Linked DNA regions of Homo sapiens: all the other regions are linked to region 1. The links are contacts of gene promoters, found by promoter capture Hi-C in blood cells and fetal thymus (Javierre and others, 2016). All regions are on one chromosome and are shown on one strand. The core of a region is centred on a gene start or on the middle of the fragment in contact, and the rest is flanking DNA. Distances in the headings are between cores, read along the strand shown.

Region 1 (2,608 bases), core at 52-2,551:
TGGAGCAGAGTGGTGCGGTCTCGGCTCACTGCAACCTCCACCTCCCAGGTTCAAGCGATTCTCCTGCCTCAGCCTCCCCAGTAGCTGGGATTACAGGCGCCTGCCACCACGCCCGGCTACTTTTTTGTATTTTTAGTAGAGATGGGGTTTCACCATGTTGGCCAGGCTGGTCTTTAACTCCTGACCTCGTGATCTGCCCGCCTTGGCCTCCCAAAGTTCTGGGATTACAGGCGTGAGCCACCGCGCCCAGCGGAAACCTGATTCTTGACTTTACATTTTTTATGCCCATCTAAAGCAGTGGAGGCTGAGACTCACAGAGGTTCAGTCACTTGCCCAAAGTCACATAGTATCCTCTGGCCTCCCTGGCATGCTGCTGACACCTGCATTTTACGGCAGGAATCTTCTCACTGAGGTTCGCCTACACAGACTTCCCAAGGGACTAAGGCCAGGATAATTTCAAAGGAATCCATTTTCTGCCCAAGTTTCGCTACGTTCTCTCTGCTAAAACAGAACTGCCTGAGGACGAACCTGCGTTTAAAACAATTTGAATTCTCCTTTCCCGTCCCCCTTTTATAATGGGTCCTCCCCTTTACAAAAGAAAGGTATTTCTCTAGTGACACTGCCCAACAACCCCTCTAATTCCCACCTACAGGTCTGTGTGAACGCCGTTCCTCGGTATCCACAGCTACGAGAACGTAAATGGGAATAGAACGGGTAACCCGCTCTCACTGGGCAGAAGCCAGCCACGGACAGTGAATTATCTGGAAATGCGTCTCCCTGAGGCGCGTTTACAATACAAAACTTTATTGTTGTTTTATCATCCAAATGTGTATATATTTATGTTGTTTTGTGCAACTGTATACTGCCAATAATCACTTTAAAATGTTTAATACTTAGAGCGCTGGATCAAGGCAAATTCCTAACAACTTGACTCGGAACTCACACACGGCACCCATCCCGTGACAGAGCACCACCGGGGTGGCTGACAAGACTTCTGACCCCAAAACGCGGTTCTGCGGAGAGAGTGGGGCAGGACCGGGGAGCAAGGCGCCGCTCCCCACCGCCCGAGCGCTCGCTACTCCAGGGCCGCAGCGCTCGGTCCCGCCGGGGTTCGCAGCCCGGCAGCCCTCCAGGCCTCTCAGCTCCTAGGCCGGGGCCTCTCCCGCTCCCAGCGCCCCGGTACCCCGCGGCCCAAGCCGAGGCCCCTCCTTGCGCCCGGGCCGCGACCACCCCCCAGGCCCACGCTCCCCGCTCCCCGCTCCCGCACTCACCGGCTCGGGAAAGCACGTCACTTCCGGAGCGTCGCAAGCGGCCGACCACTTCCGGGGCCTTTTGGCTCCGGAAGCCCAAGGCTTGCCCAGTGCGCAGGTGCAGAAAACACGCCGACGGACCGAGAGGCGACCTTGTCCCTGGTAGCGGAAGCAGGAGCAACGGCAGGAGGGATGCGGAGCGCTCAGCTGCAGCCGCGCTTCTCGCCGGCGCCCTCGCTGCCCGAGCACAAGGACAGCCGCCCCGCCCGTTCCACCCGGTGCCCAAGGTCCCCCAGCTTCTCTGACCCCTCCGGCGTTTGCGGAACCTCCCGGGTCTGACGAGGACACCGCCGTTGCCCGAGGAGGCTACGGGGCAACGCAGAGCAGGCAGTGGGGACCGCAGGGCAGCCCCGGGGCGCCGTCCCCACCGCCCTTACCCTGGCTTCGCCTTGCCGCCGCGGGGAATCCGGTGCGGACGCACGCGAACTCTGCCCGGGAGCCGAGGTGACGATCTACCTGGTCTCGGTAATAAGTATTTGCAAAACACATCACACCAAAATCCCGTTAACTTCATGAAAACTCACTTTATAGGATGATTTTTGAAGAACCAGTTTATTAAGAGATTACACCAAAAGCATAAACAATTTATACGTCAAACTCCGACTGAAAAAAAAATAACCGATAAGGATGTTTTTTAAATGTACTGTACTCACAAATAACAAGACAAATTTGACCTGTTCAATAAATAGAAATGAAGTGGCTAAAAATGTTTAAATGGAAATGGAAAACAGTCGTCTTCTTTGTACAGTTTTGAAGGGGTGCCCCCTATTCACGCCTACACGTAGAAAAACCCTGACAAAATCAGAGGTTCACTTAACACTCCAACCATATGAGCGTATTAAGGTTTCTTTTCAGATCTTAGGAGATCTTGTCCACCTTAATCCCATTCACAGATCTTAGGAGATCTTGTCCACCTTAATCCCATCATAAAGACTGTTGGCATGAGTTCTGATGTACTGTTTTAATATGCTGAGTACTGTTGATTCAACAACAAACCTTAATGGGTGATGAGCTTTTGCATACCAATATGAATTTGTCAGCACTTCTGAAAACTGGCCATCATTTTTCAAATTCACAATTTGCTGGATGTCAGGGAACAATAGGAAGAAGAATGAGCGTCAATTTTCATGTCTTCCTTTGCTTCTTCACTGGCCTTCCATAGAAGTAGTCAGAAAAAAACAAAGCACCATCAACCACACTTCACAAACAATTCATGTTGGCCTAAGCTTTGCTCAACATTCATATGACAGAAGATAGAATAATGAAAAGGAACTGCTGGCATCACTTTCCCCATAATA
Region 2 (2,608 bases), core at 68-2,567, 190 kb after region 1:
ACTTGCACATAATCCATCTATTACAGTTCTCATTTTGGTTGCAGTTCAGACTGTGCCATCTTTGGCCAATGGAAGCATCTCCAGGTTGGTTCCTGAGTCACGCTGGGACGTGGGGCTGATGTCCTTGCCGTCTGGACGTTAACATGTGTCAGGCTCACCTTACACCTTTCCTGTTTCAGACCGAAAAAGTCATTTCTCCAAGAACTGGTTTCTTCTAGTGGGAAATGGCGTTTGAAGACCACTCGCTGGGACTAGGGATGTCATTGCTGCTGGGGTGGGTTGGCCTTTTCAGTGGACAGCACTGGGAAATGTGTGTAAAACATGGTCTCATGGGCTTATATGGGTATTTCCAATTCAGGTAGTTCAAATTCAGAGGTGTAGGAGTTACCATGTTCAAAATGACGTCTTTATCTTCACAGTAAGAATTCTGGCTCTTGGCTGCCCCAAGGGCTTGGGGGGTGGGGAATTGGAGGGGAGGGCAGGAGAAGGAGAGATTAAAATAAAAGGATCCTGGTTATGGACATAGGAGATAATAGAATTAAAATATCTCCTACCTTTGGACATAGCCTGAGAATAAGAATATGGGCACTCCTGCCGAGGGTGGTGAAAACAGCCGAAAGTTGTTCATGTGCTTTCTCCCTTGGCCCCGTTTTGTATTTTGTGCTGTATTTATGTTGTCGAAACATTTAGCTGTTACACACCATAAGCTCTCCCTTTCGCCCTCTTTGAGTTTTAGTGCCATAAATAATGACATGTTTAATGCCGTGACTCGTCTTTATGTTGTGTCTCTGTAGTCATTTTGATTTTTCCAAATCTCATTCTCTGCTAGATTCTTTTGGAACGCTTCATGGGAGCAGCCACTCCCAAGTTCCCACCTGCTGATGAGTTTGTGCCCTTTGTACCTGAAGGTCTGTTTTTTGGCTCACGTTGTATTTACTGAAGTGTCTTAAGGATGTTACTCTGGATTATTTCCTCCCTAAAGTGTTACTGTCCAAATCTAATGAGAGCCTCATTTTACCTCCTGTAGGCCACGTGTTTTTCTTCCCTGGGTGTCCTTTTTCTCGGAAGCCGGCTCATCCCACTGGAGTGCGTGCTGGGCTTGGTTGTGCTGGGGTGGTGTTCTCAGTACTGGCTGTGTTCTTTCAGTGCGGTTCAAGTCTCCTTAGGAACATCTGCAATAATGATCCTTTGTGTTTGTTCTGTTCTTTTGTTTCTTTCTTCAGAGAGTCCCATTTTCCACGTGTTGTATCTTCTTTGCCTGCTGGAGCACTTTTTACAGTCTCTTAATTTTTAAAATCTCTCTCTCTCTTTTTTTTTGTTTTTTGGTTTTTTAGAGACAGGGTCTCTCTCACCCATGCTGGAGTGCAGTGGTGTGATCACAGCTCACTGCAGCCTCGACCTCCAGGGTTCAAGCAGTCCTCCCACATTGGCCTCCCTAAATGCTGCTGAGCCACTTGTGTCCAGCCTAATTTCTCTCTCTCTTTTTTTTTAATTTTTATTTTTTGAGACAGAGTCTCCCTCTGTCACCCAGGCTGGAGTGCAGTGGCTCTATCTCGGTGTGATCTCAGCTCATGGCAACCTCTGCCTCCTGGTTTTCTTCTGCCTCAGCCTCCTGAGTAGCTGGGATTACAGGTGTGCACCACCACACCCAGCTAATTTTTTTGTATTTTTAGTAGAGACAGGGTTTCACCATGTTGGCCAGGCTGGTCTCAAACTCCAGACCTCAAGTGATTTGCCCGTCTCAGCCTCCCAAAGTGCTGGGATTACAGGTGTGAGCCATTGTGCCTGGCCTAATTTTTCTCTTTTTTAAAAAATTATCTTTTTTGTCCTTTTTGGCTTCCATTTCTCTTAAGGCGTGATTTGCTGTTTACCTGCTGTTTTGAGTATGTGTTTCTGAGGTCTTCTGTGGTCTGTAGGGATGCTCTTCTGCTTTTTATCCTCTTTTTCTCTCATGGGAGCCTGTCTGGGATTTGACCTGAATGTCTTTCTGTTGCTAATTTCGACGTGAGTTTAGGTTTCTCGAACTTGTAACAGGACACGTGGTTTGCAGCGTTTGCTGACTTTGTGGTGCTCCTCTGTGGTTACTTTCCCGTGATGTTAAGAACGGGAGTCCTCAGCGTCTGTGGCTCCGGGGCTCTGTGCACCTCCCAAGCATCTGGACTTTGCTTTGCCTTCCTTGTCCCTGTCCTGCTCAGTACTGATTCACTCCCAGCAGGTTCTCTCCTGCGTGAGGCCCTGTGCTGCAGGAGCCCTGGCAGGTCAGTGTGGGCATTTGCGGTGGCCAGGCTGCCCTCCCTGGTCCTCCCCTGCCCCAGGTTTGACTGCGGCTCTTGGAGGGACCTGCTGCTCTTCCCAGGAAGTCTGCTGGCTCCTGGGTCCAGGCCCGTCGGGGTCCAGTTCTGCAGCGTCCTTCAGGTGATGGCTGCTTGTGGTTCATCTTCATCAGTTTTGTTCTAAAGATTGTCCGCTGGCTTTTGGTTTTGCTGTGTCGTTGCTCTTTTATGTGGAACTTTGGGAAGATCCAGAAACTATGCTACCCCTGTCATCGTCTTCCAGAATACATTAACTTTGAAAATTACTTATTTTAGTTTGAAGTAGTTTTCAAATC
Region 3 (2,608 bases), core at 32-2,531, 170 kb after region 1:
AGGAGTGTTTAAAAAATTGGAGACAGAAAATGTTGACTGCTAGATTTATACATTGGAAAAGTACTAGTTTAAAATATCAGTAAACATTTGCATTCTGATTATTCATGTAGAATGGAAATGTTAGGAATCGAGTACAGGCCACTGAGTTGTCTGAGCTACCTTTTGGCGTCTGGCTGTTCATTTGCTTAGCAAAGCAGCCCCTCCTTTCTGACAGTTTGACACTGATGACCCATCCTCCATTGCTCGAATCTGCTCTGAAAACTCCCCTCTGTGGGAGGCTTCTTGTTGACACTCACTTTTGGGGAGTAAAGAAAGGTGGGTTTGGGTGATTGCAGGGAGCTGGGGACCCTCCCCTATGGGAGGCTGCGGCTGTGGAGCCCTGACCGCCCTGTAGCCAGCCTCTGCACCTGGGAGGATGGAGCTTTCAGGAGCCGTTCTTCTGTTTGTTGTTTTGATTTCTGAGAGATGGGGATCTGGGTTGCCTGTTAGGATTATTTACTCTGGTCTCTATGTGACTTTTTCCATGGACTTCTGAGGACTGGGGTCTCTGCAGTGCCTGGCTTTGTGAACGTCCGTTTTTGATGCAGGTGCAAATCATGCCTTCCTCACCCGCTCAGGACTGCGATCGTCAGGGCACAGGGCAGGCCTCCCAGCAGCACTCCCGTGTCCAGCGGGCTGGCAGGTGGCCGGGGTCCTTGGCTTCCTGGGCGTCCTGGCCACCGCAGGGAGGCTTGTTTTCTTTTGCTGGGCGTGAGGCTGGTCTCCCCCTCGTCAGCTGGTGGCGTGAGATGCCCTTACCTTGTGTTTTTGGATTCTTGTAGCCTCAGCTCGTTCTGGGTGGCGCTGCCCAGACGGCTTCACTTGGGACGGCGACGGCTGTTCAGACGGGGACTCCTCAGCGCACGGTACCAGGGGCGACCACCACTTCCTCAGCTGCCACGGTAAGAGCCACTCCTTTCCGTGCCTTCAAAGACGGTCAGGCCCGTGGCGCAGGTCAGAAAATGCAGCCTTGAGACCTCAGGCCGGCTTCTGTCCCAGACCGCTCACTGCTTGCTTCACAAAGCAGTGAACAGTCTGGGGCCCACGTGAGCACGTGGGGCTCTGCTGCTGTGCTGTGTGAGGTGGGCTCCGAGGGCCTTAGACCGCAGAAGTCTGCAAACAGCAAAAGCCCAAACACCTGCCTTTGAAAAAGTCACTGGTGCACTGTCGCGTTGTATGTAAAACAGCAGCGCCACCCGTTTGTACACACTCGTAGTGTCGGCCTGTATCGATACACATCTTTATTAAAACAGAAGAGTCACTGGTGAACTGTTGTGTTCAGTGTGTAAAACAGCAGCGCCACCCGTTTGTACACACAGTGTCGGCCTGTATCGATAGACATCTTTAAACAGTGGGCCCCACTTGACGCCTTTTTGGTGTTTCTTTGCTGCGTACTTTTCGTTGCTTTAGTGACCGCATCCTATTTGGTTCCTTCTGTGTCCGTTTGGATTGGCATAGGTTGTCCTTATGGTCAGCAACATTGTAGCAGGCATCTTCGCAGAGTCTCTTTTCACTTTTTTAATTATTTGCATAGCTGCATTCCTAGATGTGGCCTTGCGGGGCTGAGGGAGATGCTGACTTCGGTGGCCATGTGACTGATGTGGCTGGCCTGCCCCATGGCCCAGGGTTCCAAGAGGTGGTGCGTTTTCTTGAAAGAAGTTTAGAGAAGAAATATATGTATCTTTTGTACATATGCATATTTTAGTAACCAAAGGCTGTGACAAAAATCTGCCTTTTAAGATTTTTCACTTATATCTTTTTACTTTAATCCAGGAAACTATGGAAAACGTGAAGAAATGTAAAAATTTCCTATCTACGTTAATAAAACTGGCTTCATCTGGCAAGCAGTCTACAGAGACAGCAGCTAATGTGAAAGAGCTCGTGCAGAATTTACTGGTGAGAAACCTTGACTTTACATTCCCTTTCCCCTAAAGCCTGTTGCATAGGACAGACACCTGTTGCTGCTGTGACCTGTGCCCGGGAGGCCTGTGCCAGCAGGGAGAGCTCCTCTGGAAGGCTGCAGGCGAAGGGGAGGGGTGCACACGTGTCGAAGGCGTGTGTGGCCTAGCTAAGGAGACTCCTTCCTGGGGCTGGGTGTTCTGGGGCCGGCGCCTGGAGGTCTCCCGGGCTTTGCCGTTTTCTGGTGCCTGCGTCCCTTGTCTGTGGCTCTCTTCTCCTCTGGCTGCCCCAACCATGCTGCACTCTGGTCAGGGTCTCCAGCAACTCCCTTCTGGCCCTCTCCCCACTCCTGTGTGACCTCTTATAAAATTCCCAGGTGTCCGCAGTCCCGGCTGGAACAGGCATTCTGCACCCTGAGCCACCAGAAGCCCCCTCCCCATGGAGCAGACCAGCTGAGGCACATTCGCGCTCCAGTGGCAGAGCCGTCCCCCCCACCCCCACCCCTCCCGAAACCTCTGTCGCAGAGAACAGCACTCTGTCCCCTGGCCGGAAGGTGGGAGGGAGGATTCCTGGCAGCCTCCCCTCTCCTTAACCCACAGTCCCAAGCTCCAGATCTCCACTCATGGCCGAGCTCTCGGCTGTCCACCTTCCTCAGCCTCATGGCTGTCTC
Region 4 (2,608 bases), core at 64-2,563, 140 kb after region 1:
TTCTCTGCCAAGGCAAAAAGCATATAATAAGCACAAGTTAGCTCTGCCTGGGAATATTGGGCTGGAGACAGGGGAGGCTCAGTCTTAAGGGAAGGCCAGGCAGGGTGGTCTTTGCATTGGTGGGAGGCTGAAGCCTGGGTTAGCTAACGGGCCCTGCCTCTGTGTCTTCCCGTCCAGCCTGCAGTGGGCTTAGAAATACTTCCTGGAATTATGTGTAAACCAGGTACAGTCGCGCGCCACTTAGTGATGGGGATACATTCTAGAAACGCATCATTAGGCAATGTCATCGTTGTGCGAGCATCGTGGAATATACTAACACAAACCTGGATGGCACAGCCTGCTACACTCTTAGGCTGTGTGGTGCGGCCCCTGGCTCCTGGGCTGTAAACCTGCATGGCTTGTGACGTGTACAGTTGTAACACGATAGTGAGTTTGTGTATCTAAACATAGAAAAGGTACAGTAAAACTAGGGGATAAAAGATGAAAAATGGTGCATCTGTGTAGGGCACTCACCATGAATGGCGCTTGCAGGACTGGGTGTTGCTCTGCGGGAGTCTGAGAGGCCTGGGACATGACTGTGCTGCTGTAGGCTCTGGGGCACTCTATGCTTAGGGTATGCTTAGGGACTATGGAATTTATAAAAACACAGTTTTCTTTCTTCAGTAATAACCTTGACTTACTATAACTTTATAAACTTAACTTTTTCAAACTTTTTGACTCTTTTGTAGTAACACTTAGCTTAAAACACAAACACATTATACAGCTGTGCAAAAAAATACTTTCTTTGTATCCTTATTCTGTAAGCTCTGTCACCCAGGCTGGAGTGCAGTGACGCAATCATGGCTTACTGCAGCCTTGACCTCCTGGGCTCAGGAGATCCTCCCACCTCAGGCTCCCGGATAGCTGGAACTACAGGCAGGCGTGGCCACCATGCCGGGCTAATTTTTGTATTTTTTTGTAGGTTTCACCGTGTTGCCCAGACTGGTCTTGGACTCCTGGGCTCTAGCGATCTGCCTGTCTTAGCCTCCAGAAATGCTGGGTTTACAGACGTGTGCCACCACGCCCAGCGAGCTTTTTTCCATTTTTAAAATTATTTATTACTTTTTAAACTTACTTGTTAGAAACAAGACACAAGCACACGTTAGCCTAGGCCTACAGAGTCAGGATCATCCACATCACTGCCCTCCACCTCCAAGTCCCGTCTCCCTGCAGTCTTCAGGGGCAGTAACACACATGGAGCCGTCATCCCTATGATATCAGTACCTTCTTCTGGACTCTTCCTGAAGGACCTGCCTGAGGCTGCTTTACAGTTAACTGTAAGTTTTAATAAGTAGATGCAGTATATTTCTGAAACAGTGATGGGAAGTAGAATGTAGTGAATATGTAAACCAGTAACATTGTTGCTAATTATCATTGAAACAGGAGAGTTCCCTGACCCGCTCTGGGTACTTGCAACAGGGGCTGTGGCTCATTTGCTGGAAGGGGAGCGTGCAGGGGAGCGTGCAGACGGGCAGGTGCAGGAGCCCGGGTGAGCCCTTTTGGGCTCCCGCCCCACAGTAGCACCTAGGGGTAGATTACAATGAATGCTCTTTTAGCAGTTGCCATTCTCAGATGGCTAAGTGTTAACCAGCTCAGCAGAGAGTCAGGCGACAGCCTTTTTCCCCCTGCCCTCTCGGTACCCGAGTCCTTGTGCGGTGTCCAGGAAGAATCAGGTCACACGGACTTGAAGGATGGCATTTGTGGGGATTTTATTGAGTGATGGAGGTGGCCTTCAGTGAGATGGATGAGCTGGCAAGGGGATGGAGTGAGAAGATGATCTTCCTCTGGAGTTCAGCCGTCCCGCAGCCGATCTCCTCCTGGACGGTGCCCAGCCAAACCCCTCTCGACATTCAGACGCTCCTTCTCTTTTCTCCTTCTCTGCTGCGCCACTTTGCTCTCGTCAGTGGAGCTTGGGGTTTATATGGGCACCAGATAGGGGCGTGGCAGGCCAGATTAGTCTTGGAAAAGGCAACATTTGGGCGCGGAAACAGGAATGCCTGTTCCCATTTAGGGCTGCAGGTGTCCAGGCTTGAGGGTGGGGCCTTTGCTGGGAAATTGCCCTCTTCTACCCAGTATTTCCTTGCCTCCTGTCTGTATCATTAGCCAGTATTCTGTATGCTACAGAATTGTATGTGGGAGGGTTTTTTTTTTTTAGGAGATAGGGCCTCACTCTGTCACTCAGGCTGGAGTGCAGTGGTGCCTTGAACTCCTGGGCTCATGTGATCCTCCTGCCTTGGCCTCCCCTAAGTAGCTGCAACTACAGCCACTGTGCCTGGCTGATGTTTCAATTTTTTTTTTTTTTAGAGAGAAGGGCTCTTGCTTTGTTGCCCAGGCTGGTCTTAAACTCCTGGCCTGAGGCAGTCTTCCCATCTCACCCGCTCAAAGTGGTGAGCTACTGCACCTGGTCAGTGTGCCATACTTTTCTTTTTTCTTTTTTTTTTGAGATGGATTCTCGCTCTGTTGCCCAGGCTGGAGTGCAGTGGCGCAATTTCGGCTCACTGCAACCTCTGCCTCCCGGGTTCAAGCAATTCTCCTGTCTCAGCCTCCCAAGTAGCTGGGACTGCAGGCG

The links. The method cuts DNA at HindIII sites, captures the fragments that hold promoters and counts their contacts. A CHiCAGO score of 5 or more calls a contact.
Region 2: a fragment that was not itself captured here is called in contact with the fragment with the promoter of MTG2 in region 1 in 8 of 17 cell types (M2 macrophages, monocytes, M1 macrophages and 5 more); the score reaches 11.2 in M2 macrophages.
Region 3: a contact is called between a fragment that was not itself captured here and the fragment with the promoter of MTG2 in region 1, in 17 of 17 cell types (naive CD4 T cells, activated CD4 T cells, M2 macrophages and 14 more). The highest score is 16.7, in naive CD4 T cells.
Region 4: a fragment that was not itself captured here is called in contact with the fragment with the promoter of MTG2 in region 1 in 15 of 17 cell types (activated CD4 T cells, M2 macrophages, naive CD8 T cells and 12 more); the score reaches 9.6 in activated CD4 T cells.

What each region holds. Positions count from the first base shown.
Region 1 is chr20:62,181,721-62,184,328 of GRCh38, reverse strand. It overlaps MTG2 (mitochondrial ribosome associated GTPase 2), which reads right to left and starts at 1,301. Exons shown (of 7, transcript NM_015666.4): 1 at 1,272-1,301. It overlaps SS18L1 (SS18L1 subunit of BAF chromatin remodeling complex), which reads right to left. Exons shown (of 11, transcript NM_198935.3): 11 at 1,815-2,608. RefSeq lists silencers at 1,083-1,252, 1,259-1,443, 1,483-1,672. The HindIII fragment of the contact is 5,602 bases long and covers 1-2,538 here.
Region 2 is chr20:61,990,320-61,992,927 of GRCh38, reverse strand. All of the region lies in intron 14 of TAF4 (TATA-box binding protein associated factor 4), which reads left to right. Among named protein-coding and RNA genes, the nearest start is that of MIR1257, 38 kb to the right of the region's middle. The HindIII fragment of the contact is 9,088 bases long and covers 1-2,608 here.
Region 3 is chr20:62,008,379-62,010,986 of GRCh38, reverse strand. It overlaps TAF4 (TATA-box binding protein associated factor 4), which reads left to right. Exons shown (of 15, transcript NM_003185.4): 4 at 822-941; 5 at 1,813-1,935. Among named protein-coding and RNA genes, the nearest start is that of MIR3195, 55 kb to the left of the region's middle. The HindIII fragment of the contact is 5,713 bases long and covers 1-2,608 here.
Region 4 is chr20:62,041,501-62,044,108 of GRCh38, reverse strand. The region is part of intron 1 of TAF4 (TATA-box binding protein associated factor 4); the gene reads left to right. Among named protein-coding and RNA genes, the nearest start is that of MIR3195, 22 kb to the left of the region's middle. The HindIII fragment of the contact is 3,785 bases long and covers 1-2,608 here.